6 separate regions of the Homo sapiens genome follow, and regions 2, 3, 4, 5 and 6 are each linked to region 1. Evidence: promoter capture Hi-C in 16 types of primary human blood cells and fetal thymus (Javierre and others, 2016). All regions are on one chromosome and are shown on one strand. The core of a region is centred on a gene start or on the middle of the fragment in contact, and the rest is flanking DNA. Distances in the headings are between cores, read along the strand shown. Region 1 holds the start of MINDY2-DT (MINDY2 divergent transcript). Region 2 overlaps GTF2A2 (general transcription factor IIA subunit 2). Region 3 overlaps FAM81A (family with sequence similarity 81 member A). Region 4 has its middle 77 kb from the start of AQP9. Region 5 overlaps LOC124903499 (a long non-coding RNA gene). Region 6 has its middle 120 kb from the start of AQP9.

Region 1 (4,853 bases), core at 1,529-4,028:
TAAAAGATCTGTTAAATTGCTCTAATTTGTCTTTAAAACAAACAAACAAACGAAAAAAAAAAAGATTGGTTCAAGACCCATAAATCCCATGAAGTTTTCTAGGACTACGCCATACCAAAGGAAAATGTCCCCTTTTTGAATATCAAATGCATTTCCACAGATTTACCACAGTTTACCTACCACTTGTCTCATATAACTTACTATTTCTTGTTCTTAAACAGTTTCCAGTAAGTTAATGATGCCACCTCAAACAGCTTGACAGCCTTTTAAGGGCAGGTACTGTCTTCACTTAAAACATCTCAGTGCCATTATGCACCAGACAATGGCAAGGTTTCTAATTTTATTTCTTTTCTATCAGTCCTTGCTAGCGACAGGAAGATAAAGGCATGTTTGATAAACACTATTCCCTTTACTTGATTTTCTACCTAAGTGTTTAGAAGAATCCAGGTTATTTTTCTTTTTCTTTTAATATAGGGTCTCACTGTATTGCCCAGGCTGGTCTCAAACTTCTGGGCTCAAGCGATTGTCTTGTGTCAGCCTCCAGAGTAGCTGAGCTTACGGAGTAGCTGGGATTACAGGCGCACACCACCACACCCAGTTTGTTTTGTTTTTTTTTCCTAGGAAACATTGCATCTACAGATATAATTATCAATTTGAAAATAAAATAGGTGCTGTGAGATGCATCTTCTCAGCACCCTAACACTGCAAGCTTAAATGAGACACTTCATTTGACAGGTAACTCGCTCTGAGTCCTCAACATACCTATTTTTAAGGGTCTTTCCCTTTTTTGCTCCTTCACCTTAGACATACCTTTTCTTATTTTAGTTCTTTAGAGTTTTAGCTCCCTTAACACATTCGGATGCATGGTTACTGGTAATAATGCCAAACCATTTAAGGAGAGCCAAAGAAATGAGGCAAGTAAAAATCATGCATAAAATGAAAACAATCTTTGAAAACCAAGAAGTTACGGTAATTGGGTCTCAGACCAATGCTTTTCCTTAAATGGAATTTGTCTAAAGAGCCACATCTTCCCCATCACCATTCTCTTAAGTATCTACACACAAATGGGGCATTAGTTGGAAATCAAACTAAATATAACCATGAAAACTTAGTCCATGATATCACGGATTGATGGTAACTTCTGAAGATTACTTTCTCCAATTCTTCACTTTTTTGCATATGTGATAAGGTCAGTAAGAAAATGTAGGAAATTATAGTTTAAAATAATCATAAGATTTAAGATGCTCTAAGTCCTTCTTGTTTCTAAGTGTATCAACCACAATTGAATGTTGAACTCTTAAACACTACAAGAGAAGACTGAGGTTAGGGGCAATTCTTTTCGATATATGTATAAAGGAATATTCCTTCAACATGGAAGTCTTGGAATGAATTTCATGTAAGAAGGGGACTGATGAATGAGGAAAGAAAGGAAGCCATCACCTGACATGCAGCAGCTCCCTCACCCCGTTTTCCTCCACCCCAAAAGCTGTAGGAAGTAGAAAGCTGCAGAATGTACCTTCCAGGCCAGGAGCAAAACATTGAGGATGGCCAGCAAGGGGCAGGGTCCGTTCTCATTCTGGGTGATGATGGGTGTGTTCTCTTCCTTCCACTGGATCCACTTGATGTGATACACAGATTGTCCCGGGAAGCGTTCCTTGGAGGCCGCCAGCACCTGAGCGGTCTCCTCCCCCTCCTCCTCCTTGCACAGAGGAACAGCCCCGGGCAACACCGCCGCGCCCTCCTCCTCCTCAGGGACCCTGTTCTCCGCTCCCTCCTCACTATTGAACTCGCAGCTACTGGGAAAAGAATGCAGGTTAGAGAACGACTCCAGAGAGTCCAGGCTCGGAGATTCCCCAGGAGGGCTCGGGTCGCTGCAACTGCTGCTGAGGCCGCCGGCGCTGCTGGGCTCTTCGGAGCCGGCGGCGGTCAGTTCTGCTTGGCAGGTGCCGGCGAGATCCGGGCGGGCTCCCGCGTCTCCGGCGGTACCCAACTCATGACCCACTCCGGCCACGGCTGTCTCCGGGGAGGCGGTCACCTTGTACTGCCCTCTCAGAGGCGCCTCGGCGGCAGCAGGACTCTCCAAACCACTGTCCTTCAAGTCCAAACCCGCGGAGGAGCTGCAGGGTCCGGGAACCTCAGGAGAGCCCGCGGGAGAAGCCGAGTCCGGGAGGCTCCTCCTGGCGGCCGCCGCCCCCAGCCCATTCCCGCCGCTGGTCTCCGCCGCCCATACCCCAGGACCATCACCAGCGGCGAGCCTGGTCTCCTGTAGCCCTTCCTGCGAAGAACCTGTCCCTGACGCTGGCCCGGCCGCCACCCCGTGTTCTAGCGGCTGCAGGCTCTCGGGGCTGCTCTCCATACCGGGCCGCCCGCCCCCAGCTCTATGGAGACCGCGGCCACTTCTCCGCAGCCAGCGCCTTGGACGCCATGACAGCTGTATTGGCAGCAACAGCGCCCTGGCGCGGCCTCGGTCAGGCACGTCACCGGGGAGAGTACTAAGAACGCGCGCGGGCGCGCGCTACCGCTCTGTCCGTGCGCTCTGAGCTTGCCTCCGCCTGACTGCGCGCTGAGAGGCGAAGGCGAACCACTCAGCAGCCGCCCACGTGGCCCAGCCCTTTCCGTGCGTCCGACCGAGCTCGCTCTCGGAAGGCCGGGCGTGGAGGGCGTGGCTAGGAGGGCGCGGCCGGGGGGCGCGCCCCCGCGGCTCAGCTCCAGTAGGAAAACATCCTCTCACTATGTGGCCGGAAGTTGAACTCCCGGGCAGCTCCCTTGTGTGCGGCTTCTTTAAAGGGAAGGCAGGAGGCGGACAGCTTGGCTGTGACCCTTTAGCGCTGGGTCGCGTGTGGCCCACCCTCGGCCTGAGGCATTGTTGGGTGGTTGGAGGTGGTTGTAGTATTTGGAAAAGAACTTGTCCCTGAAGGGCTCAGGGGACTTGGTTTCTCAGCTCCTAATATGGAAAATTAAGGCATTTCTTACGAGATGCAGATTTTAAAGCAGGCATATCTACTCGACGGCTTTGGATTACTGCACTGCACAAATTCCAGTCTCTGTCGGTTTTGGCTGAGAAGAGCTGTGCTTCTCACCAGCTACTGGTGAGACATTCGCCCTACAGGAAAGGGTCGGTATGATTGTGGACATTGACATGCGTAGCAAAAGAAAGTGGCTAATTTGCGCCAATAATAATAAATTAGCTTGTATTTGAATTAGCCAAGTCTTTGCGGTTTTGCTAACTTGGCTTCACTTTGCATGGAGTGGGAAGCGCCTGCTTCTGAAAAGGTGACTTTTTTCCTAATTAGAATGGACTCCTCTTAAGGCCATGCAGTTTTCAAAGAAGAAAGACAAGCTGGACGTTTTGTTAGTAACAAAATGTATGTGGGTCCTATTCTAACTTGTTACAGAAAAGGGCTTTTTCCCCCATCTTTTTTCTTTCAACATTTTCTAGGCTGTTGGGGATAAAAAATTAACGAGACAGGTCTTCCTTCGCAGACATATAAATACCTGATACATAATTAGAATGTGATATTTTTGCACCTCTGTTGGTTAGAGAAGGCAGACAAGATTGCAAAGTAGTATTTCATTCATTCCTTTAATACATTTTAGTACCAAGTAAGTTGCTGGATGCTGTCTGTCACTGGAGATGCCATAGTGGATCACGGAGCTTATATCTTCATGGAGCTTACTGTCTTTTTTTTTCTTATTGCTATTTTTTAATACATACTTATATGTTTTTTTGTTTTTGTTTTTGCTTTTGTTTTTTTTTTTTTTTGAAACGGAGTCTCTCTCTGTCGCCCAGGCTGGAGTGCAGTGGCACGATCTTGGCTCACTGCAACCTCCGCCTCCCGGGTTCAAGCGATTCTCCTGCCTCAGCCTCCCGAGTAGCTGGGACTATAGGCGCCCGCCACCATGCCTGGCTAATTTGTTGTTGTTGTTGTTTTTGAGACGGAGTCTTGCTCTGTCGCCCAGGCTGGCGTGCAGTGGCGCGATCTCGGCTCACTGCAAGCTCCGCCTCCCGGGTTCACGCCATTCTCCTGCCTCAGCCTCCTGAGTAGCTGGGACTACAGGCGCCCGCCACCACGCCCAGCTAACTTTTTGTATTTTTAGTAGAGACGGGGTTTCACCGTGTTAGCCAGGATGGTCTTGATCTCCTGACCTCGTGATCTGCCCACCTCGGCCCCCAAAGTGCTAGGATTACAGGCGTGAGCCACCATGCCCGGCCACACATAATATGTATTACATATAATACATGAATGTTGGATACTTATATTCTTGTTTACCTGAGAATGCAGAAGACTGTGCCCCTTTTTTTTTTTTTTTTTTTTTTTTTCCCACTTGAGACGCAGTCTCGCTTTGTCACCCAGGCTATAGTACAGTGGCGCCATCTCAGCTCATTGCAACCTCCACCTCCCGGGTTCAAGTGATTCTCCTGCCTCAGCCTCCCAAGTAGCTGGGACTACAGGCGCACGCCACCAGGTCCAGCTAATTTTTTTTGTATTTTTAGTAAAGACGAGGTTTCACTACCTTGGCCAGGCTGGTCTCTAACTTCTGACCTTGTGATCCGCATTGACATGATACTATGGTATATGTCCAACTGTAGGGTCCAGCCTTACGGGGCTTAGCGGGTGTTCTCCCCGTGTTCAGAGACGAGAGATTGTAATAAATAAAGACACAAGACAGAGAGATAAAGAGAAAACAGCTAGGCCCGGCGGACCGCTACCGTAAAGATGCGGAGACCGGTAGTGGCCCCGAACGGCTGGGCTCGCTGATATTTATTGCATACAAGACAAGGGGGCAGGGTAAGGAGGGTGAATCTTTTAAGTGATTGACAAGATGAAGCAAGTCACGTGATTACAGGATGG
Region 2 (4,853 bases), core at 1,703-4,202, 880 kb before region 1:
CAACCAGCAAACAGTATTAAGAAGGATGAACTTGTGAGTTAGGACAATCCGAAAAGGGCAGTGTCCCAGAAGCCAAGGTAAGATCCTGTACGAAAGAGGAGGGAGTAATCAGCTGTGTCCAATATTCTGAGTGAGGCTAGAGAATTAGCTTTAGCATTGCCATTGATGACCTTCACCAACCTGTTTCCTTAGAGTGCTAGAGGCAAAAATTAGCTTAAGAGAAAATAGGAAAAAAGGAATTGGGAGACAGTGAATACAGACAAAACTAAGGGATTTTGCTGCAAAGGGGAACTGAGAAATAGGATGTAGCTGGCAGGGGATTTGGGTTGAGGGGTTTTTGTTTTGTTTTACTTTTTAAGGTGGGAGAAGTAGCCACCTATGTGTTTGCTAATGGAAATGATCCGCAGAGAGGGAAAATTTGATGGTGAGGGAGAGAAGTAACAACTGAATTGTCAGAACAATATCCTTGAGTGAATTAGAAGACAATGCCTGATACAAAGGTAGAAGGATTGGATTTAGATAAAAATAGGTATAGAGTTCAACTATAGTGACAGGGAGGGAGAGTATATGGGTACAGGTTGGGCATCCCAAATTCAAAATGCTCCAAAATCCAAAACTTTGAGCACCAACATGACACTGAAAGGAAATGCTCTTTGGAGCATTTCAGAGCTTGAATTTGGGGTACTCAATCACTAAGTATATACGATGCAGATATTCTAAAATCCAAAAGACTTCAGGTCCCAAGCATTTCAGATAAGGAATGTTCAACCTGTATAGCTATTGGTAGGTAGCTGGATGTGGCTGTGAGTCTGGAAGTTATTGCTGCAGTTTCCTCAGTGAAGTGTAATACTTTGTGTCATACTCAGATACATTTCTAATATATTAGCACTTTAACATACTACCAAGTATTTCACTCAACAGATACTTAATAGATACTACATACGTTGTTCTAGTTGGTAAATATGTAAATGAACAGAAGTCCCTGTCTTCAGTGTGTCATCTATTTTAGTAGATGGAGACAGAATAAGCATATATATGTTAGCTTCAGTTATTGGTATGAATGAAAATAAAGCAGTGTGAGGAAGAAGGAAGGTAATTCTTTCTTATAGGTTGATTATAGAAGGCCTTTCTGATGGAGTAATGCTTGACCCAGAGATCTGAATCAAATGAGAGAGTGAACTATGCAGGTATTTGGAAAGAATACTGTCAGCAAAAAGAAGAGCCACCACAAAGGCCCTCAAGCAGGATCATGCTTCCCCTGTCAAAGAACAGCAGGGGACCAGTATGACCAGAGCAGAGTGAGAGGGTGAGTGGGCGAAGATAGGGAAGTAGGCACTGGGGGGCCCAAATCACATAGGCCTTCCAAGCCATGGACTCTGTGGTTTTCACTGAGATGGGATGCTGCCATTGGTGGTTTTGAATAGACCAGTGATGTGATTTGCCTTATGTTTTAAAGTCTTAGTGTGGCTACTATGAGGGTGGGGTTGGGATAGGCAAGACTGGAAATAAGGAGACCATGAGTTATCACATTAACTTTAGTGACAGATGATGGTGACTTAGGGTAATAGCATTGAAGATGGTAGAAGCTGTCAGATTCTGGCTATAGTTAGAAGGACGAGCTGAAAGGTTGGCTGATGGATTGGATGCCAGGTAAGAAAAAGAGAAGTTACTCTTGACTCAGGTTTTTGAGCTGTTACAGGAAGACTATGTTTACTGTTACCGAGGTGGGTAAGACTGAGGACAGAGCATATTTGCAAGAGTAGCATCAGAAACATGGTTTTTGACAAATTGAATTTGAGCTACCTACTTGATATTTTTATCCAGTGTCAAGCAGGCAGTTTTATATATGGGTACAAAGGGAGAATTGAGGGCTGGAGATACAAATTTGAGAGTCATCACCAGATAGTAGATGGTATTTAAAGCCGTAAGTCTGGATGAGGTAACTAAGAGAGTAAAGTATGTGGAAAATAGAGGACCCAAGAAAACTTAGGGCAGTTCAACAGTTACAAGTCAGGGAGCTGAGGAGGAACCAGCAAAAGAAAATAAAAAATACAATGGTATCCAGTGACATGAGAACTGAGAATGCTGTCTCAAAGCCAAAGAAATGTTTCAAGAAGGCAGAAATGATCTGTTGAATCCAGTGCTAGCAAGGTGTGAAATGTAAGGACTGATGGCTGGCCATTATTTTTGCTGAGTTTTATCTGATGATTGCTCCTCAAATGTATTTTCCCCCATCCATCTCCAGACTGAAAGGGCCATGAGGTCAAGATCTTACACCTGACGTGTAGTGGAAGCTCAGTAAATATTTATTGACTGTGTACTGCTGCCACCCTTTTCGAGCCCCCATCCCTCATCTGTTTCTAAATCACGCACTGAAGCCCAGCTGTCTGACCTTTCCTGCCTAAAATTCTTCAGTGACTCCCCACTGCTTGCACCTATCCTGCCAAACAACTCCATCTATGCTGTCTCTTTCAGCTTCATCTCCTGCCACTCCCTATTCGTACTTATGCCCTGATAATGTAGAACAGTTTATGTTTTTCCCCACAAACATTTCATCCTTCCATGGCTTTACTTATTCTATTCTGTCAGCCTCTGGAATGACTTCCCTCCTCTGCTTGGCTAAAGTCTAGCTTAAAGAACCTGGAAGCTTTTCTGAGCCAGCTCACTTCTACAGGCAGCCTCCATGGTATGCTTTGTATCTTTATCCCAGTTCTTATCTTTTTGTATGTTTGTTACATTCTCTAGAGTATAAATTTTTAGGATTGGGAGCATGCCTTTAATCATCATCTTCTCTCTGGAACCTGTCACAGTGCCATTCTCTTGGTAGGCACTCTGTAAATACTGAATTTAGAGAGAACAGGAAAATAAAGGGGCAGACATGCAAACATGAGCTGAAGATTTTACCAGTGACTTGACAGCAGGTAGAAAGGACAGTACATGGAAAATTCTAGACTAAGTCAGAAGGCAGACATTTGAAGGAAATGGTAAAGACATTTTAATAAATATAACAGCTATACTGCATAAAGGAGTATAAATGCCCATGTCAAAATCATGGGGAAAAAAACTGGAAAATCATTTGTAGCAATTCCTTGTAATTCTAAAATGATTATCTAGTAATGTGCAACCACTAAGCGTTCTCCTAGTTCTATATTAGAATATTTGAGGTAGATGATATTATATACATAATTTATGATGTTACAGTATGATCTTTTTTAACAATTTTATATTAAATTTTTAGGACATCAATGCAAGCTTGAATAAGAAAAACAAATTCTTCCTCCTAAGCCATGGCATATCAGTTATACAGAAATACTACTTTGGGAAACAGTCTTCAGGAGAGCCTAGATGAGCTCATACAGGTGGGAGACTGAATTAAAAATCAAACATTTTTATCTTGATGGGTTTACAGTAATTCTTGTCATATCACTTAGGCAAAGAGATATGAGGTAAAATATCTTGGACTATTTGACCCAGCAAGTCAGTAACACTGATTAAATTACCTCAAATTCTTGTTTATTACACTGTCCTGACAACAGGACACAAAACATGATTGAATGATATCATTAAATATAGCTAAATCTGGGTACATGCAGTGTTTCATGCCTCTAATCCCAGCACTTTAGGAGGACAAGGTGGAAGGATCGCTTGAGGCCAGAAGTTTGAGACCAGCTTAAGCAACATAGCACCACCCATCTCCACAAAAAATAAAAAAATTAGTTCGGTGTGGGCGCATGCCTATAGTCCCAGTTACTCGGGAGGCTGAGGTGAGAGGATGGCTTGAACCCAGGAGTTTGAGGCTTAAGTGCACTATGATGGTACCACTGTACTCCAGCCTTGGTGACAGAGCAACATCCTGCCTCTAAATAAATAAAGTTAAATCTTCAAAAATTTTTGTTCAACATAAAAATTGAGATTGTTGGTTTCCCCCTTCTCAAATTTAGGGAAGAAAGTCATATACTTTTTAGCTTTAAGATAGTTTTGTCCAATTTAAGTCTTCTGAGATTTACAAGTCTGAATTTATATTTCAATTTTAAGAGAATTAACCCTTCTGTATAATTCTCCCAAATAAAAACATATTAAGTATTTCCAGCTGGGCACCATGGCTCATGACTGTAATCCCAGCACTTTGGGAGGCCGAGGCAGGCGGATCACCCAAGGTCAAGAGTTAGAGACCAGCCTGACCAACATGGAGAAACCCTGTCTCTACTAAAAATATAAAATTAGCTGGGTGTGGTGGCACACATCTGTAATCCCAGCTACTTGGGAGGCTGAGGCAGGAGAATCGCTTGAATGCGGGAGGCAGAGGTTGTGGTGAGCTAAGATTGCGCCATTGCACTCCAGCCTGGGGAACAAGAGCGAAACTCCGTCTCACAAAAAAGGAAAAAAAAAAAAAACATATTAAGTATTTCCATTTGTTGGTATATTTTATGAGATTCAATAAAATTTAATAGGTTTTTTGTTTGTTAATATAGGCCCTGTGTATTTAAAAGAAACACCTCTTTGTCTATCTTCTCCTTTCCAGCCACTGTAAGGGAAAATTGACAAAGTTTTGTTCTGGCTTTGTAACATCACTGCATGTTTTCTCTTCAAGATTGTTTGTGTCAAGATAGTACAAAAGATGTCTTCAAGCTTGGTGCTTCATCATCAGTTATGGCAAAGGAGATAAAGGAATTCTAGTTTAGAGGCTTTGGTTAACCTCAGTTAAATTTTAGATGATAATTTGTATATTTTTATTTACTTTGTCTTTAATGTTCTTCCTTAACGGGATTTATGACCTTTACCTTTTCTCAGTCTCAACAGATCACCCCCCAACTTGCCCTTCAAGTTCTACTTCAGTTTGATAAGGCTATAAA
Region 3 (4,853 bases), core at 1,414-3,913, 730 kb before region 1:
ATGGTATTTGTCAGATCCAGAAGAAAGAGAAAGAATGTCTCTTTTGATGGATATCTGTACATATTTGACTTGGCCTGGCTATAAAGAAGCTTATGATTTCCTTAACATCTCTTCTCTGGTGTAGTAATTCCATTCTCACTCATTCTTCAAAAAAGAAATTATTATTGGATTGTCTTTTTATTCTTTTTCATAGTTTTATAATATCTGTATTTTTCACATAAGTAGCTTTATATTCTTATTGGAGATGATTAAGGTATAAATGTATTTAATCCAGTAAGTTAACCAGATGCTCCTATTTTACTGGAATAGTCTCTTTAAACGAACAATAGCAAATAAGGCAGATATTGTAGAAAAAGTCCTAGAAGACACGCCCTATGATGGCAAAGGGAAACTTTTAAGTGGCCAAAAAACAAACTGAAATGCCAAAAGTTTTGCTTTGTGAAATTAATCTGTGACGTTTGAGGTCAAATACTCTCATATTCATTAGCCTGCCTATGCTCTAGCTTTGCCTAATTTTGTCCCACATACAGACTATGTGATGAGGTAGTACATACAATGAGTCCCAGGGAATACATTATTTCCTGAATCAAAAATTGGGACGAGTGGCATGTAAAGGATGCTTGATCACTTACTTGTGCAAGAGATAGCTTTCAAGGTGTCATTTAGAATTTCTGGAATGTATTAGTTGTTCTAGGAATGTGGTGGTGGGGAGTAGAATTAGGACTATACCAAACAATTTTGGTGGTTTGGTTGCCAGACACATGAAGGGCCACTCTAGTGAAATAGGAAAGGAAGAATCAAAGAAAAGATGCTTATGATTGGCATAAACCCATGCTAGATGCCCCAGCTGGTTTCTCCTGTAAGAAATAATCAACACCATGTTATTCTTAGCTAAGAACAAATTACCCGCTTCTAAAAGCTACCTGAAACAGGTCGTACCTGTCCCTCTGCATCTTTGATTTTCGTTTCCAAGATAAGTTTGGCAGCCTGCTGTTCTTTGTTCAAGTGCTGGAGCCCCTCATAGGTCGTTTTGTGCTCTGCAGAAAGTCTAGCTATGCTGGCATCACATCTGTCCAGACAAAGAACAAAGCTGATTCTTATTAAAGTTTAAAAACAATGCGCAAAAGCTTCCTTATACACTCTGAAATGCAAAACCCACTCAAAGAAAGTGCACTATCCATCATTCTTTTGAACAGAGGTTCAAATGAATTCCAAGAGCTGGCCTCATTATGGTTTTTAAGGTAAACCACAGGGATGTTGCTTAATAAGGCTAGAGATGTAACCACCAAAGAAATAAAGTCTTTCCAACGATCATGAGTACAACACTGTATGTGCAGCGAGAGGCCAATACAAAGAGCATAGCTAGTGTGCTGGATGTGGTCTGTCACTCTTCAGTACCACCCCTGCCTTTCGAAGTTGGGGGCCTCCTTGGATTTGGGAGGAAACTTCTACCATGTTAGAAAATATTACTTCTAAACTTTGACTGAATCACTCGTAAGGCTGTATAGTATGAGTAGGGTGTAGAGCAGGGGAAGGCTTTGCAGCCAGTTCAAGCTGTAGTAAAAGCTGCTGCCCTGTGGGCCTTGCAACTTGGCAGATCCAATGGTACTCAAAGTATGTGTGGCAGATGAGCTGTGTGGGGCCTCTGTCGAGTCCTAATAGGAGAGTCACAGAATGGACCCATAAGAGTTTAGAGCTAACTAATGCTCTGTTCTGAGACAATATTCCTCTGTTGAGAAGAAGCTGCTGGCTTGCTACTGGGCTCAGTAGAGACAGAATGCCATTAGGTGACTCTGCAATCGGAGCAATCCATCATGAATACCACACTAGAAGGTGGGCCTAGAACAGCACTCCATCTTCAAGGGGAAGGGTTCAAGCAGGTTCAAAAGGCACAAGTAAGTTACAAGAGCACAGACTCCCACCATGGCATCTATTCCTGCTACTGCACCAACTCTCCTTCAATCCATGCCTATGACTTCTTCATCTTCTCCCTCCTGCTGCTTGGGAGGCTGAGGTTGAGGCAGGAGAATTGCTTGAGCCCAGGAGTTCAAGGCCAGCCTGGGCAACATAGCAAGACCCTGTGTCTACAAAAAGATAAAACGATAATACAAAACAAAACAAAACAAACAAACAAAAAAATCTGTGGCTTCTAGAAGAGTTCTTGATGACCAGGTGGACTGAGGGAGAAAGTCAGGCCTGGCTTACAGATGGTCACACCCAGTATGCTGACACCTTCTGGAATAAGACTGCTGATGCTTCTAAGTCCACTTAGGAGTAGCCCTAAAGATTGTTAGGAAGACAGAATTTCTAACAATATATTGGGAGATTCATTTTGCCTGGAATAAGAGATGGCCAGACATTCAAGGAAAGTGGCTAATGGTTAGAGACTTAGGAAAAAAACTGGAGGATTAGTGACAAGGAAAAGAGTTTACATAAATGGATCATTCTTAAGTGACACAACATTTTTGCTCCTTGTAAATGCTCTTTGTCTCGTAGGGACTGAAGCCCCAAACTATACTTCCCAGACGTCATTGCCAGAAGGGTTCGGAGTTAGATTCTGACAGTGAGAGTCATTTATACAAGACTCAGAAGGTAGAAGAGGAGAACCCTTTATTCTCCCCTGTCAGTGGTGGGCAGACACAGGGGTGAACTGCAGATGTGAGGTGTACATCCACTTCCAGGCAGACACCATCCAGCAAATCACTTACTTCCATGCTATAGGTGGCTAAGATGATCAATGACGCCTTTCTGTGATTTTTTTTTTTTTTTCGAGACAGAGTCTAACTCTGTCACCCAGGCTGGAGTGCAGTGGCGTGATCTCGGCTCACTGCAACCTCTGCCTCCTGGGTTCAAGCCGTTCTCCTGCCTCAGCCTCCTGAGTAGCTGGGATTACAGGTACACATCACCATGCCTGGCTAATTTTTGTATTTTTAGTAAACATGAGGTTTCACCATGTTGGCCGGGCTGGTCTCAAACTCCTGACCTCAGGCAATCCACCCGCCTCAGCCTCCCAAAGTGCTGGGATTACAGATGTGTGCCACCGCGCCCAGCCCTTGTCTTAATTCTAGACTAGACATAGTTGAAGATAGAATCAGTGGCTTCAATGATAGTAGCAAGGAACTCACTCAGAATGTAGTGGACAGAGATTAAAAACATGAAAAAATAGTTAAGAAACATGGAAGTCAAATAGAGGGATGTTAACATAAGTCAAGGAGGAGTTCCAACAGAAGGAAATAGAGATAATGGCAAAGAAGCAATATTTGAGGTGTGAATGCCAACAATTTTCTAAAATTGAAGAAAGACATGAATTTTAAGATGTTCAATGACTACAAACTGGGATAAGTAAAAATACATAAAGCATGGGGAAATTCAGATAACCAATGATAAATATAAAATCTTAAAAGCTACAGACTAAAGAGAAGTAACCTACCCAAAGCTACCAAAAACTGACAATAAGACTGACAGCCCACAATAGATATAGGAGACAACAGATATCAGAAGATAATGGAGAAACATCTTCTAAGTATTGAGGGTAAATAACCTATCATCCAAGAATAAGTACAAAATAAAGACTTTTTCTAACATGCAAAGATTAGAAAAATATCACCCACAAGCCAATACTGAAAAAGTTACTAATGAATGTACTTCAGTAAAGAGAAAAGAACACCCACAAAGAAGGAGTAGGGTGCAAAAAACAATAGTGAGTAAATGGATAAAATTGTGGTAAACTTATTATTGACTCTAAAGAAAGTAAGCTACCAGCTCAATTATTCCAACTTTCTTATAGACTCTTACTTTGCAACAACTGTTCTAGAATGTAAACTGCATGCAAGGAGACATTATATATGCCTCTTTCATCACCTAAAACCCTAGTTTTATTTATTGCCTTGCATATGGTAGAGGCTTAATAAATATTTGTGAATGAATGAATATAAGGAAATATTTACTATGTACTAGGTACTGTACTAGATACTTGACATATATTATTTCATTAATCCTCACAAATCATTCCCATGTCAATGATGATTAAAAATAATGCCAAATGTAGACCCTGATTTTTTATTTTGAGTTCATAATTTTTTAGCAAAATATTATTGAAATCATATTTGGGGAAAGCTGAGGTTTTTAAAATACTATGAAATAAAAAATATAATAGTTTTTTTAAAAGACATTATTTTCCAGTCCAAACATAAGCTTCCTAGATAAACACTATCAGGTATCACTACATCAGACCAGTTTCATCAACTTTACAAAGCCGTTTGAGGGACAGACTGTGTTTTAAAATGTAGTTTGAAAAGTCTCAAAAGTATTCTGAAGCTTTCACTAGCTATCACTTGGCTTCAATGCTGTGTCTCACTTGGAAACACAAGTACTATAACATAAATTTCTATTAATACAACAGTGGCTAGGGCTGGGCACAGTGGCTCACACCTGTAATCCCAGCACTTTAGGAGGCCGAGGCAGGTGGATCACTTGAGGCCAGGAGTTTGAGACCAGCCCGGCCAACATGGGAAAACCCCATCTCTACTAAAAATACAAAAATTAGCTGGGTGTGGTGGTGCACGCATGTAATCCCAGCTACTCAGGAGGCTGAGGCACAAGAATCGCTTGAGCCTGGGAGGCGGAGGTTGCAGTGAGCTGAGACTGCGCCATTGCACTCCAGCCTGGGTGACACAGTGAGACTCTGTCAAAAAAAAAAAATAGTGGCTAAATACATTGACTTATAGTACATAGATGTAGCAGAATACTCCATATCCAATTAAAAAGCATGCTAGATCTATGTGCATACTGGAAGTGTCCACATGTTATGTGGAAAAACTTATGTTGCAGAATAGTATATATAATACTTTGTA
Region 4 (4,853 bases), core at 1,636-4,135, 560 kb after region 1:
AGGCGTAGTAACATTATTGGGAATCAAGACTTTACTGTAATGGAAAATAAAATTTGAAAATACAGTAAGTTGGCCTGGTGTGGTGGCTCACGCCTACTGGGAGGCCGAGGCGGGTGGATCATGAGGTCAGGAGTTTGAGACCAGCCTGGCCAATATGATGAAACCCGGTCTCTACTAAAAAATGCAAAAATTAGCTGGTTGTGGTGGCATGGACCTGTAGTCCCAGCTACTTGGGAGACTGAGGCAGGATAATTGCTTGAACCCAGGAGGCGGAAGTTGCAGTGAGCTGAGATTGCACTGAGCGAGACTCTGTCTCAAAAAAAAAAAAAAAGATAAAAAAAGTTTTACATTAAATTTGAATATATGAGTCTTGAGCACATATATTTCCTTGCTTTGCCCACTTGAATGGCCTAACAAGTAGTGACACCTAGCTGCAATGAACGTACTTACTGTCTAGATCTTGTTGTAAATACTACTCTCCATTGCAAAGGAACAGGACTCCTTGGAGAATGGTGATGTGGTTTGGATCTGTGACCCCACCCAAATCTCATGTCAAATTGTAATGCCCTGCTTTGGAGGTGGGACATGGTGAGAGGTGATTGGATCATGGGGGTGGATTTCTCATGAATGTTTTAGCGCCATCCCCCTGGTGCTGTTCTTGTGGTAGTGAATTCTTGTGAGATCTGGTTGTTTGAAAGCGTGTGGCACCTCCTCCCTCTCTCTCTCTCCTGCTCCACCTGTGCGAAGTGCCTGCTCCCCCTTCTGCTTCTGCCATGTTTATAAGTTTCCTGAGGCTGGGCAGATGCCAGTACCATGCTTCCTGTAAAACCTGTGGAACCGTGAGCCAATTAAACCTCTTTTCTTTATAAATTACCAGGTCTCAGGTATTTCTTTATAGAAATTCAAGAACAGACTAATACAAATGGCTTAATCCAGATCTGAGAAAAAAAATATAAAATGAATCAGAAACGTTTTATGGTGCCAGAAATCAAGGAGAAACTCAAAAACTAATATGTTCTTCTTTTTTTTTTTTTTTTTTTTTTTTTGAGACAGAGTCTCACTCTGTCACCCAGGCTCAAGTGCAGTGGCGTGATCTCGGCTCACTGCAAGCTCCGCCTCCTGGGTTCACGCCATTCTCCCAACTCGGCCTCCTGAGTAGCTGGGACTACAGGCGCCCGCCACCACACCCGGCTAATTTTTTGTATTTTTAGTAGAGACGGGGTTTCACCGTGTTAGCCAGGATTGTCTCGATCTCCTGACCTTGTGATCCGCCTGCCTCGGCCTCCCAAAATGCTGGGATTGTAGGCATGAGCCACCGCGCCCGGCCTAATACATTCTTATAAGAAGGATACAGGATTCATTTTGAAGGGCCTCCCTTTAGCCAAATTTGGGACAGTTTGAACATTAAAAAAACAAAGTAAGCAACTTTAACACATTAAATAAAAAAGAAATGTATGAGACCATGGTAATATGATGTAGAGAGAGAGGGAGAAAGAGAGAGAGACAGACAGAGAGAGAGAGAGAGAGTGAAAGTAGAGAAGAAACAGAATAAAAGGAAAGCTCATCTTTACAGAAGAATGTTAGCTAATAAATATGGGAAGAAGGATACAGTCCTAATACAATGATGGACTCAGGTAAGGATCTTTAATTGTTACTAAAACAGTTGGGTGACATTTTGGAGAAAAGTCAGTTCATATGGTACCAAAGTACTACCTCACAGACTACTGATGATAAAGGAGGGGAAAATGTACTTTTACTCTGTGGAGACCTCTGGCCATCACCACCTTAACCAAGGGATCAAACTTAGCATCACTTATACTGGGACGCTCTTATGACATTAAGTGGCTACCCTAGTATGATTCAACATTAAGTAACAAAATGGACAATGCAGTGTTCTTGCCAGAGATGTTTAACTTGAATCTAATCAACTTGCCAGACCTAATTTTCAGGGCACAGAAAATATAGGGATAGAGGAACAGATTACAAAACAAACACCAAGAGGAAACAATCAGCTTCATCTAGAATGTGTGGAACATTCTATGAAATAACTGGACTCCTTTAAAAAGTCAACGTAAATAAATTTTTAAAAAAGAAAAAGTATCTTTTTTAATATTTTAAAACAATAAAAGCTTTAAAAGGCTAAAAACACAAGTGCAAGAATTTGGCATAATTTTAGAAATATAAATATGAACTGAATATTAGGTCATATGGAATCATTGTCATTTTCTTAGATGTGATTATGATATTGTGGTTACATAGAAGAACCTCCTTATTCTTAGGCAATGCGTGGTGAAGTAGTGACTAAATGCCATGAATGTCTGCAACGTACTCTAAGTAATTTAACAAATAATAATATATATATTTTATTCCTCCTGTATTTCCTCTGTAGGTAGATAGATAGGTAGGTAGGTAGATAGGTAGATGGATAGATTGATAGACTGATAGATAGTCAGCAACAGAGACAAAGGAGGAAGCAAATAAGGTAAAATGTTAAAACTTGGTGAATCTAGGAGAAAGGCATATTGTTAGCTGAATTCCTTTATCTTTTCTATAGACTTGAAATTTTTCAAAATAAAAAGTTGAGGGAAAATGCCTGGCTATATAACATAAGACACAGGAGAGTCCTTGGGTTTTTATCTTATAAATTTTTCATTTTATGAATTGTAAAATTAAAATTCAAAGAGATTATAGAGCTTACTCAAGGCCACAGAGTTAGAACATAACAGAGCGCAGCCTCTGGTGTTATATTCACTGCTCTTTGCTCTCATGAAAATTAACCTCAGTTTTTATTTCCTTCTCATGCCACACTGGCTTTTCCCTATCTGAAGGACTGGGGGAGGCAGGGGCCTGAAGTTGATTGATCCCTGATACTCTCCTCAGGATCATGGTTGCTCCTTCTCATTAGGCCTGAGCTTGGGGACTACAGGAAGCCCTGCGCTCTCACGCTCCCTCTCACTCCATCTCCCACCTCGACTTCCTGGGCTACACTGTCTCACTGTTTCTTTAACACAGCACCACCCTCACTGACCTGGCCATGTCACTCCATCAGTCATGTTCCTTAATATTCTCGGGCTGATTTTTAAAAGGCTTCCTGGAATTATTGAAAACAATCACAACAACAGTAACTCAACACAATCATATCTTGGCCATGCTAATTGGAAACCTTAGTTTCAAATGAAAGGTTATACTCCGGGCAGTAACTTCTCCAATCTCCAACGGGGTAGTGCCTTCTGCAAAAGGGTAGCTTTAAACACACCAACCTATAAATTAAACCACCATGCTGAGTTTGCACGAGAACATTTTGCAAGGTAGTTAAACAATGAAAAGTAAGCGTGTTTCCTATTGGGTCCTTTTCCCCTCAAAGAAAGGGAACTAGTGGTGGAGATGCTCAATGGAAATCAAGCATAAATTAAGGGGCTTAAGCCTTCCTAGGTAGAGAAGTAAAAATAACCGAGAAATCCTCAAGGTTGGATTTAACTTTTCTGCTTTTTTTCTCCGAATCCGTCCTTCCCCCACCCCCTTTTTGTGTTTTCATTTAACATTGCATTTTCTTTTTCCTTTTCTGATGTACCTACAGTTTATTTTCCTTCTTTGACTGGAACAAAAGGATTTTTATTCTTAATGTGTGTTGGAAAGCTTGGTATAAAAAATTCTAGACAGTCAGCCCTGTCCCCCATCTAGCTGTTGCTTATAATGGACCTCTTTTCAGTGAATATCTAATGAAGGTAGCTGTTAAATAAAAATGAATGTTATATATAAAATTGTAAAATGTTATTTTCTACCTTTTAGAGAAAAAGCATATCAATGTGGAATGTATAATTTACAGTCAAGCTGGAAGACTACAGCAACTTAAATGGTACTAGGCACGGAACGGGCAGGAAATCAAAAGTCATCAAGGAAAGTTGGAGGATATTCCAGAGATTGCAACATAAGCCCCAGAGGTTCAATGTATTTGCTGAGTAAGGGCCTTTTAGAAAAACAAGTCTGTGGGTTGATATTATTGGCACATTCCCTCCAAATGACAGACATCATCTCTTCTCCTGAATTTATGGGGCTGAGTTTCTCATTTGTAGTATGGTGTGTGTCTCTGCATATGGAACTCTAAAATTAGCTTTTTAAAAGCAGGCATAACAAGCTGCTGGCCTGGGTTTTATTTCATCTGTATAATATTTTTAAAAATAAGAAATTTGCACATGAAATCCCTGATTTCCAACTTCTCTGGGAAGATCTGGCAACCCTGGGCTTGAATTTTCTCCTGTTAAACGTTGCTTATCTCCCATGGCTGTGAGCTCTGCAGTTTGCTGCCACCCTTAGAAGTCCCTGTTGTATATCCAGACGGCTTTATTTAAATGGCTGGCTCCCAGCAGCCTCTGAGTTTGAGACCTGTGTCATAGAGTTTCAATTCATTTTGGTGAAACGATTTCTTTTTTGACAAGGATAGGTATTTACATCTATTATGGCAACTCATGCACTCAGGATGCCTTACAAGGAGTTTTACATTACATCATTTTATTTATTCCTTCCAAATTTTACGATAAATAAAATTATTATAATTACTTAAAAAATATGTCTCTGAATCTTGGAGAGGCTATGGAACTTGCCCAAGTTAGCAGCAGAGCCGAATTCAAATCCAAAGCCCTCAGAGAACTGGGGCAAAAGAGAATGGTGAGGTTGCGGTTACCCACGGCTGATTTCCTTGAAAAGAAAGAAATCAACATGATAGCATTGAACAACCATGGGTCAAAGGCCCCAGACCTGGGCCTGAAAACATGGCTTGTCTTTCTGAGGGTCTTACCGCTTATTGGTTGGTAACGTTGAGAAATCCCCTTTCCTCTCTTGGTCTCAGTTTCACA
Region 5 (4,853 bases), core at 776-3,275, 530 kb after region 1:
CTCCTCACACAGTGCTCTTTCCACCAGTCCTGCTTCTCGTTTGGGGGACAAGTTGCCGAGAGCAGCTCGGTCGGGGAGACCCTAACCCAGCGGCGCTAGAGGAATTAAGGACACACACAGAAATACAGCGTGTGGAGTGGGAAATAGGGGACTCACAGCCTTCAGAGCTGAAAGCCCCGAACAGAGATTTACCCACATATTTATTGACAGCAAGCCAATGATAAACATTGTTTCTATAGATTATAGATTAACTAAAAGTATTTCTTTCTTTTTTTTTTTTTTGAAACGGAGTCTCGCTCTGTCGCCCAGACTGGAGTGCAGTGGCGTGATCTCGGCTCACTGCAAGCTCCGCCTCCCGGGTTCACACCATTCTCCTGCTTCAGCCTCCCAGGTAGCTGGGACTACAGGTGCCCACCACCACGCCCAGAAAATTTTTTGTATTTTTAGTAGATACGGGGTTTCACCATGTTAGCCAGGATGGTCTCCATCTCCTGACCTTGTGATCCACCCGCCTCGGCCTCCGAAAGTGCTGGGATTACAGGTGTGAGCCACCACACCCAGTCTAGATTAACTAAAAGTATTTCTTACAGGAAACAAAGGGATGGCCCGAAACAAAGGGATGGGTCTGGCTGGTTATCTGCAACAGGAACATGTGCTTAAGGCACAGATCGCTCATGCTGTTGTTTGTGGCTTAGGCATGCCTTTAAGCGGTTTTCCGCCGTGGGTGGGCCAGGTGTTCCTTGCCCTCATTCCGGTAAACGCACAACCTTCAGTGTGGGTGTCATGGCCGTCACGAACATGTCACAGTGCTGCAGAGATTTTGTTTATGGCCAGTTTTGGGGCCAGTTTATGGCCAGATTTGGGGGCCTATCCCCAGCACAAGTACACTTGGGGTACCAGTTGTGCATCTGAGTTGGGGTTCCCTAAGCTTTTAGATAATCATGGAGCCTCACTGTGGAGCATAGATTTACTCAATGTTTTGGGAGGGAATTATTGTATTAAAATAAGGAGTGATCTATTATGGGGAAGAATTGAAATTTAGCCTGACTTTTAAAGATAAAATTTGAGACTTCAAAGATATTTTTGAGCTTGTGGAGAACTTCTTCCACTCCCCCACCCTCCACCCACTTACCCATTCACACACACACACACACACACACACACACACACACACCAGAAACATCACGTACCAAGACCAACTTCTGGTAGACATTCACAACTTCTTTGGTGGGCACACAGGCCTCTAAGGCCAGGGAGATGAAGGAGCCTCTGAATTCTGCTTACTACTCAACTTGAAAAATCTGTAGGCAAGTTTATAATAGGTCTTTTGAACAGGGTGTCTTCCTTGAGTTTCTCTGACAGGCAGCCCACCAGGGGCCCAGGTAGCCCATCAAACTTCTAGACCTCTACTGAAGTTGAAGAGGCGAGTCCTCTTCAGTGGGCCCAGAATATAAAATCTGTTTTGTTCCACAGTGCCGGGCTCTCTTTCCTGGATGGGAGAGGGGCAAAGATGCTAATTCTGGGTTGAACAGATATGCTGGGATGACCTGCTAGGACTGAGGCTGGCACCTGTTTATGGATTGGTCAGTGCTCATGTTATCCACTGCTATAAAGAAATACCTGAGACTGGGTAACTTATAAAGAAAAGAGGTTTCACTGGCTCATGGTTCTACAGGCCGTACCAGAAGCATAGTGGCTTCTGCTTCTGGGGAGGCCTCAGGAAAGTTAAAATCATGGCCGAAGACGAAAGGGAAGCAGGCATGTCTTACAAGGCTGGAGCAGGAGGAAGAGAGGAGGAGTGAGGTGCTACACACTTTTAAACAACCAGATCGCGTGGTAACTCACGCACTCACTTAGACAGCTCTGGGGTAATGGTGCAAAAACATTCATGAGAACTCCACCCCTGTGATCCAGTCACCTCCCACCAGGTCCCACTTCAAACACTGGAGATTACAATTCGACATGAGATTTGGTGGGGACACAGATCCAAACTATATCAGTGTTTAAATATTTTGAACATCATGACTAATATGAAGTAGTCTTTATTTGTAATTACTCACCCTATTACACAACTTTAAATGCCTGCCCCCTTTTCATGAATATTTCCAGGCCCCCCTCAGATTATCAATGTATAATCCCAGACAGGGATGTTATATGGATAAGATGAGACAATATATGGAAGGCCCTGAATGACGTCCCAGGCACAGTGGGAGGGTTCAGTATATATTCTCTATTATTCAATCAATGTGTATTGAATACATAAATGGTGGAAAACATTTCATCACCAGAAATACCTTTATTATTTTGTCTCCATGCCCCTCAGTGAAGGAAGCAATGCCATAAGACAATAATGAGTTTGTTAGTGGGGATGGAGTTATCTATATTTTAAAAAGTCAATTCACTTATAGGAAAGGACTGGGAATCCCTAGTGATTTCTCCTTTCTTGGCATTGTTTACCTTCTGTTTCTCAGAACGTGTGTGTGTGTGTGTGTGTTTGTGTGTATTTGGGTGCTACTTTGAGATTGACCATATTTGCTTAATCTCTTATATTTGTGGAAGACTTACAGGCTATTAATACTTCAAAGAACTGACCTCCCTGGATCCCGCTGTATCTTGCTGGGACATAATCAGCAGGTTCCATCAAGTCTAATCTACTTAGTGACATGACCCTGGGCTCTCATATATCTAATAAGATTTTTCTCCCTAACTCTAGAAGGTATATTAAACCTGCCATTTGTAATTTACCTGTTAGTAATTATAAATGCATACCATCATTTCTCTTTTGGTCCTAAGATCCACTTGGCAAGTGGATTAGTTCACACAATTTGGTGTTCTGTACCTTGGAAGAAAGGAAAAATGCTTTTGCCTGTAACAGCGCAGTATCCTTTTTCCTTAATTAGGGATGGCTGGGCATCTTTGGGCTCTTATTTTATTCTTTTGTCGTTTGGGCCCATCTAATGGAAGCCTCTGCCTTTGTCTATCTCCAGTTACCTTTTATCTCACCTAAGAGTTTAGGCAATTTAAAACCAAACTCCCTTCTTTGGGTTACAAGGTCACTGGAGCCATTATTTTAATCTGGATTTGAATATCCCTCTCATAAAAAAGTTCATAAAAGAAGCTTGATCAGGACTGACTAATTCAATGACTTTGGAAGCTTCTGCTCTCCATTTAGGCTTCCTATTAGCTTGATTCAGCTCTGGACCATTGATCCTTTTAAGTTTCGGATGGAGAGTTTCACATTTCTTTTCTTTCTTTGTTTCTTTTTTTTTTTTTTTATGGAGACCGAGTCTCTGGAGTGCAGTGGCACAATCTCGGCTCACTGCAACCTCCACTTCCCAGGTTCAAGCAATTCTCCTGCTTCACCCTCCCGAGTAGCTGGGATTATAGGCATGTGCCCTAACACCCAGCTAATTTTTGTATTTTTAGTAGAGACAGGGTCTCACCTAGTTGGGCAGGCTTGTCTCGAATTCCTGACCTCAGGTGATCCACCCGCCTTGTCCTCCCAAAGTGCTGGCATTACAGGCATGAGCCAGCATGCCCAGCCTACATTTCTTTTTAAAGTGAACAGAACCCAATATGAATCTTCAGTAAATTATTTTCCTTAATCATAGAATAGATGGCATCACTTCCTTTATGATTATTCCTATAGACCTTTGCCAACTCAGCCTTAAGATCCAAATATAAATCACAGAACAGTGGAGATGGAAGATTTAGGATCATCGAGATTTAATCTCTTACTTCATAGACAAGGAAACTATGAGAAGTGAGGTGATTTGGCCAAAGTCACAGAGATAAATTAGTAGTTACAACAGATTATATTTCGTATAATTGTTTGCTTAAAGCCACATTTCTGAGTCACTTGTCTTAGAAGTTGGGGAAAAAGGCAGGGTGAAAGAAAAAAGTTGAGCTATCAAGGTTCAAGACAAAAGGTGAATTGGGACCTTGTATGGAAGGCGGATGTCAGAATGGGAAATGAAAGGATACCAGCTGCTCAAAGCCAAAGACAGAGCACAAACCAAAGACATGAGTGAGTCAAGGGAGGGGAGTTCATGAAGGGTTGGTCTGTGCCAAGGAGGTGAACTACAAGGGAAACTTAGGGGGTTCATGAGGCTGTGCTTTCAATTGCATTAACTTCTCTTGCAGGCTTGCTCTTTTTAGAACAGAGGAGTTTTATATTTTTTAAAAATTGAGGTAATTATTTACGTAATTAAGAAATCAAACAGTGTTAAAAAGCTTATAATACAAAGCAGTAGTTCCCTGAACAAACCCACACCGGCTGCTGGTTCTTTGCTAAGGGACATGCTTTGAATTTTTAGCTGGTTTCTCTGAGTTACGTGTGCATTTAAATACGTGGGTATATTGCAGTATTTAAACTTACAAATGTTATCAGAGATGAAGATTTAATATCTCCACCTCTCTTCAGCCTCTCACCCAAATTTTACCACACTTTAAGTTATATCAATCATAGGTCTTTAAACCATTATGACAATGTAAGTATTGTATTGTTCACTCCAGAACCCATTAGAATACTGGGATTCCATATTTTTTCTTGAATAGGCTTTGGTCATTCCTTGAGTTAATAATTGCCTGATTGCATCTTCTTTCCAGAAGCTTCATCATATCACCTATTGCATCACCCTTTCTATTGTGGGTCTACTTTTTCCTGGACACTCCTTCGTGAAGCACTATCTCTTCTGCACCAGTGAGGATTAGTGGCTCTCTAGTTCTGCCACACTTGGGATTAACTTGGGATCTTCTCTCAATAGCTTTTCTAGGTTGGATTTAGGTTTCTGGGATGCCATGTTTTCTTTTTCCTTGATTATTTCCTTGTAACCAAGATGCCTATCCTCCAG
Region 6 (4,853 bases), core at 1,598-4,097, 520 kb after region 1:
TGGACTTGTAGACTAATTGTTTAGATTTCATATTTTTCTCCTATTTTTTTATCACTTTGTCTTTTTACTTTATTATTTCTTCAGCTTTATTTTCCAATCCTTCTATTGGGTTTATAATTTCTGGTATCATATTTTTAACTTAAATTTTTTTGTTGTTGTTCTTTGACATTCCTTTGATAGAGCATCCTGCTCCTGTTTCACAAATGCAGTACGTTATCTCCCTGAGGCTACTCTGACAACTTTAGTTGTTCAAGTTTTCTTCTCTCTGCATAGTCTCTTTCCTCTAAGTTGTTTTTCAATAATTTTTGGGGGGCCTGTCTCAGAGGGAGAGTTTCCTCAAATGTGTGATGGTTCTTGTCCCACTTTCAGAGTGGGACATTGAAAAGCTCGTCAGATTTAAGTCTCCAGATTAGATGTTTCTGATCCTCTTCCTGGAGAAAATAAACTTCCACTCTGGGTCTGGGAGATGAGGAGAGGAAGAGAGCTGGAATCTGACATTCACAGTGTCAATGTCCATTGAATCCTATGTTTCAGTTCTATCCCCCGTCTTCAGCAATGCCTGGTGTTCTTCCTGTAGAGATTGTAGGTTACACCCTTTATCGGCAAAAACCACTGGTCTTTTGCTGGAGAGCAGCAATCGTCTGGCTGGTCAATGAGGGATATAGAATCTGGGGCTGTAACTGCTCTTTGAAAAGACTTAAACAATGCCGTTTATAGCCTCCTGTTTGCCCCAACCTCTAGATCTATCTGGTGCCACTAATTTCTGAAACTTTTGGGGGTTTTGCAGAACAGATTGGGCTGCTACTTGTCTTCACACTGATGGCTTAGGATTTAGCTTGTCTCAGGACAGCTAGGTGAGGTACCACCTGACCATTTGCCTTCTCACGTCAACACACCTGCTGCTCTTTTCTCCTCTCCTCTGTCCTTTGTCCTTGTGAGTTCATGCCTCCTTCTGCCCACCCTTGAGCATCTTTTCAGTGGAGTTTAAGTAGGAGAGGCCGCTGTATTCATTCAGAGTGCATGTGTATTTGTTTTCTGTTGCCGTCATAACAAATTTCCACAAATTTGGTGCCTTAATACAAATTTATTATTTTACAGTTCTGAAGTAGAAGTCCAACATGGGTCACACTGGGCTAAAACCAAGATGTTGGCAGGGCTGTGCTCCTTTCTGCATGAGACTATTTCCTTCCCTTTCCCAAATTCTTGAAGCTGCCTGCATGCCTTGGCTTGTGGCCCCTTTCTGGATCTTCAGAGCCAGAGACAAGTCCTTCTCACGTGGCATCACTCTGACCTCTTCTGCCTCTTTTAAGGATGACTGTGATTACATGGGGCCTGCCTAAATATTCCAGCGTAAGCTTCCTATCTGGAAGTCAGCTGATTAGCAATCCTCTTTGCAACCTTAATACCCTTTTGCTATGTTAGGAAACATGTTCACAGGGTCCAGGGATTAGGACATGGACATCTTTGGCAGATCACTATTCTGCCTAAGACAGCATCATGAACTAGAACTGAGAAATTTGAAATTCAGTTATCAAAATTACCAGGATGAGTTTATTTTCCTCCATCTTCTATCGAGACTTAAAAGGATTCTAGGTTCCAAAGAAACTTGAATCCTTGATACAATCCACACTTTGTAAATTGTGTATTTAGGCTTCTACAGATAAATGGAAAATGAATAGTACTTGCTTTGAAGTCATTTCATTCCTAAGTAGTGGGACATATTTTGTTTGAAGAACTCAAAGTAATTGTAGTGGGTTGAATAGTGTCATTCTCCAGAAAGTAAGTTCAACTCCTGACCCCTGATACCTGTGAATGTGACCTTTTTTGGAAATAGGGTTTTTGTAGTTATGATTAAGTTAAGGATCTCAAATGAGATCATCCTGGATTTAGGGTGGGTCTTAAATCCAATGACTGGTGTCCTTGTAAAAGAAAGGAGAAGATTTAAGACACATAGAACAGAGAGAAAGGCCATGTGAAGACTGAGGCAGAGACAATTCATGCAGCCCCAAGCCAAGGAATGTCACAGATTACCGGCGGCCACCCAAAGCTAAGACACAGGAGATGTTCTCCCTCAGAGCCTCCAGAAGGAACTGCCCCTGCTAACACCCTCATTTCGAACATCTAGCTTTCAACAATTGTGGGGAATAAATTTCTGCTTTTTTTTTTTTTTTGGCTGCCCAGTGGTAATTTGCTGCAGTAGCCCTAGGAAACAAATGCGGCAATCTTTTAGCCAACTTCTCCTCCATGTGATAAATACGCAGGTCCTATTGACTTCATTTTGCTCAGAGAGGCTGTTTGTTCACTGTTACAGCTGCCCATGTGACATTTAGAATATCTAGAGGCCATGTCCGTAGAAGCGAAATAAAATGGAAATTTGAGATCATCCGTTGGTTTCTACAGGAAAGAAAATCTAACATTTATTGATCTGGCTCTGTGTTAAATGTTTATGGTCATTATTTTATGTAATTCTCATAATGTCTTTATGAGGAAGGTACTATGATAATCTCTCTTTCATAGCCTTGGAAATTGCAACAGAGAGAGGTTAAACAACAGAGCAAAGATTCTAACAAAGCTCTTTCAAAACCCTGTGTTTATGCCTGAAGATCCCAACTGCAAGTCGAAACTGATCAAATCTAAATAATTTTTCAAATTTCCCCTTTCCATTGTCTATGTAGTAAAAGCCAGAAAGTTCAAGGGTTTCTGTGGACAATTATTTAAAAAATGATGAGTTGAATAAATCCAGACTATTTCTTCATATTCATATTATACCCAAAGGCTTTCTCCTGGGAGAAGCTGCTGAAGAATCAAGTCATTAAAAACTATGTCAGAAGCTGCTGCATGGATCTCACTGATACTCATTTGATTACAAAAATATTGTCTTTCCCCGCAGCTATGCTTTTGTCAGGGGTATGGGAAGATAACTAAACTGGCAGGCCAAAGGCTCAGAGAATTCATTACCAAGATAAATAGAAAAAAAGGAACTTCAAGAGCCTCTTAGGAGATTTACAGGGATTGCCAGGGCAATTATTCTTCTTGGTGTCTCCAGCACATCCTGCTTCTGTTCAGAAAAATGAGGACAATTTGATAAGCCCACTGTTTAGGGGGCTATCTGGTGGGTCGTTTTCATGGATAACATCTTGAGCTTCTTTCGTTCTACTTTTTTTTAACAGGCTGGTTTTAAACAAAGTTAAAGCCGAAGTCAATGGGTAGCTATATCCCAGATTCCAGGGTCACTGCTGTGTTACCAGTCTGGGTAGAAAATAAGCTCTTGTCTCTTTATCTCTCGCCATTGAGATAGTATCATTTTTTTTCACTCCTAGAACCCCACATTCTGGTGATAACTCTCAGGGCTTACTCAGCCCAAGCCAGTAATCTTTGTTATAATCTGTTTGTGAAGAGAAAACAACACATTTGGATCCTTCCATCTTGTCCTTTTTTATCACCTGCTGTTCTTGTCAAAACCCAGGCCGACGGGTTGCTCTTGAGGTGGCCTTGACTTACTTGGTCACTGGAGGGCAGGGAGCTCAGAGCTGATGGCGAGGCCACTTCCCCCTCTATGTTGATGTCACCATCCCAGCTAGGGTGCAAGTATGTGTGGAGGAGACAATGCTGATGGAGCAGGGTGGATAAAGCACAGGAGTACTGGTGTGCCCTTGCCCAGGCCAGTCTCCAGAGGCCTGTGGCTCCTTCCCTCCAGTCTCTGTAGCGTCACCCCAACTCCTCCATCCCCTGGAAATTCTTTCTCTTCCCTCATCAAGGACTGCCCCTGGGCTGGGCTTCTGGGCTGACACCAGTACTCCTCCCAGGGTATTGGCTGGTTAGACCAATCCACAAGGGATAGGACCTGTGCTGTCGGCAGGACATTGGGAGAAGATAAAATTGGATGGGCAGGGTGCAGTCAGATGGTGACAGACCTGGGATGCTTGGCCAAGGCGTCTGGGAAGGTTTAGAGCTGGATGTGAATCACCTGCCCTGCAATCCCAGCTCTATTTCCAGCCACTGCAGCCTGTGTCTCAAAGGTCTGGTTTTCTTGGCGAGCATCCCTGGGTAACCAGGCAAATGTGCCCACCCCTTCCAACTCGTCATGTAGTGCCTTTCTTGGGGGTCTCTTCCCCCCTAGTCACTTGCTCTCTTTATTTCAAATTCTGTGAGTGAGCTGGAGAATTGGGATTGATGGACTCCTTAATTAACGTTTGGGACTCTCTCCCCACCTACTGCAACTGCTGACTAGAAATCCTCACCTCTCTTCTGTTCTTCTTGCATCCACAGCTCCACTGAGGCTGTGTGTGAGGTAAAGCTGGTGTTTGGAAGGAATACTGCTTCATGGAGTCAAGCTTGTCCAACGTGAGGCACATGGGCCGCACGCACCCCGACACAAATCCAGAAACTTTCTTAAAACATTTTGAGATTATTTTTGTGATTTTTTTTTTTAGCTCATCAGCTATTGTTTGTATTAGTGTATTTTATGTGTGGCCCAAGACAATTCTTCTTCCGTCGTGGTCCAAGGAAGCCAAAAGCTTGGACACTTCTGCTTTAAAGCTTTGCGAGGGCAGAGTGTGATGTGAGATACTCGCCAGACTGGGGGCAGAGCTCTGAGGTCTGGGGCAGGGCTCTGCTGGCCCACCTGGCAGTTCCCACACCAGGACTCGGTGTTCCCATCTGTAATATAAAGGGGTTCTCCAGAGGCACATCCAGTTCTAACATTCTGTGACTCTGGGTTTTGTAACCCTATTTACTCATTTTCTATTATTTCCTGAAAACGTGGTGTCCCAGTTGCAGTTATCTCTCCTTTCCATACACTGAAGGTACAGAATGGTATTTTAATCATCTTGGCATTGACATGTTTTAGAGCA

Evidence for each region. The method cuts DNA at HindIII sites, captures the fragments that hold promoters and counts their contacts. A CHiCAGO score of 5 or more calls a contact.
Region 2: a contact is called between a fragment that was not itself captured here and the fragment with the promoter of MINDY2-DT in region 1, in 1 of 17 cell types (naive B cells). The highest score is 5.6, in naive B cells.
Region 3: a contact is called between a fragment that was not itself captured here and the fragment with the promoter of MINDY2-DT in region 1, in 1 of 17 cell types (total B cells). The highest score is 6.1, in total B cells.
Region 4: a contact is called between a fragment that was not itself captured here and the fragment with the promoter of MINDY2-DT in region 1, in 12 of 17 cell types (megakaryocytes, M1 macrophages, M0 macrophages and 9 more). The highest score is 15.6, in megakaryocytes.
Region 5: a contact is called between a fragment that was not itself captured here and the fragment with the promoter of MINDY2-DT in region 1, in 14 of 17 cell types (M2 macrophages, M0 macrophages, megakaryocytes and 11 more). The highest score is 17.6, in M2 macrophages.
Region 6: a fragment that was not itself captured here is called in contact with the fragment with the promoter of MINDY2-DT in region 1 in 14 of 17 cell types (total CD4 T cells, endothelial precursors, M2 macrophages and 11 more); the score reaches 14.3 in total CD4 T cells.

What each region holds. Positions count from the first base shown.
Region 1 is chr15:58,768,899-58,773,751 of GRCh38, reverse strand. MINDY2-DT (MINDY2 divergent transcript) reads left to right here and starts at 2,778. Exons shown (of 2, transcript NR_135474.1): 1 at 2,778-3,365. It overlaps MINDY2 (MINDY lysine 48 deubiquitinase 2), which reads right to left and starts at 2,450. Exons shown (of 9, transcript NM_001040450.3): 1 at 1,517-2,450. The coding sequence starts at 2,356. RefSeq lists a silencer at 2,496-2,775 and an enhancer at 2,588-3,513. The HindIII fragment of the contact is 12,290 bases long and covers 712-4,853 here.
Region 2 is chr15:59,650,712-59,655,564 of GRCh38, reverse strand. GTF2A2 (general transcription factor IIA subunit 2) reads left to right here. Exons shown (of 5, transcript NM_004492.3): 2 at 3,239-3,359; 3 at 4,792-4,853. The coding sequence starts at 3,288. Among named protein-coding and RNA genes, the nearest start is that of GTF2A2, 4.4 kb to the left of the region's middle. The HindIII fragment of the contact is 605 bases long and covers 2,650-3,254 here.
Region 3 is chr15:59,503,429-59,508,281 of GRCh38, reverse strand. It overlaps FAM81A (family with sequence similarity 81 member A), which reads right to left. Exons shown (of 9, transcript NM_152450.3): 5 at 940-1,069. Among named protein-coding and RNA genes, the nearest start is that of FAM81A, 68 kb to the right of the region's middle. The HindIII fragment of the contact is 3,067 bases long and covers 1,130-4,196 here.
Region 4 is chr15:58,213,247-58,218,099 of GRCh38, reverse strand. No RefSeq gene overlaps it. Among named protein-coding and RNA genes, the nearest start is that of AQP9, 77 kb to the right of the region's middle. The HindIII fragment of the contact is 1,507 bases long and covers 2,132-3,638 here.
Region 5 is chr15:58,233,343-58,238,195 of GRCh38, reverse strand. All of the region lies in intron 1 of LOC124903499 (a long non-coding RNA gene), which reads right to left. Among named protein-coding and RNA genes, the nearest start is that of AQP9, 97 kb to the right of the region's middle. The HindIII fragment of the contact is 2,190 bases long and covers 931-3,120 here.
Region 6 is chr15:58,251,720-58,256,572 of GRCh38, reverse strand. No RefSeq gene overlaps it. Among named protein-coding and RNA genes, the nearest start is that of AQP9, 120 kb to the right of the region's middle. The HindIII fragment of the contact is 2,979 bases long and covers 1,358-4,336 here.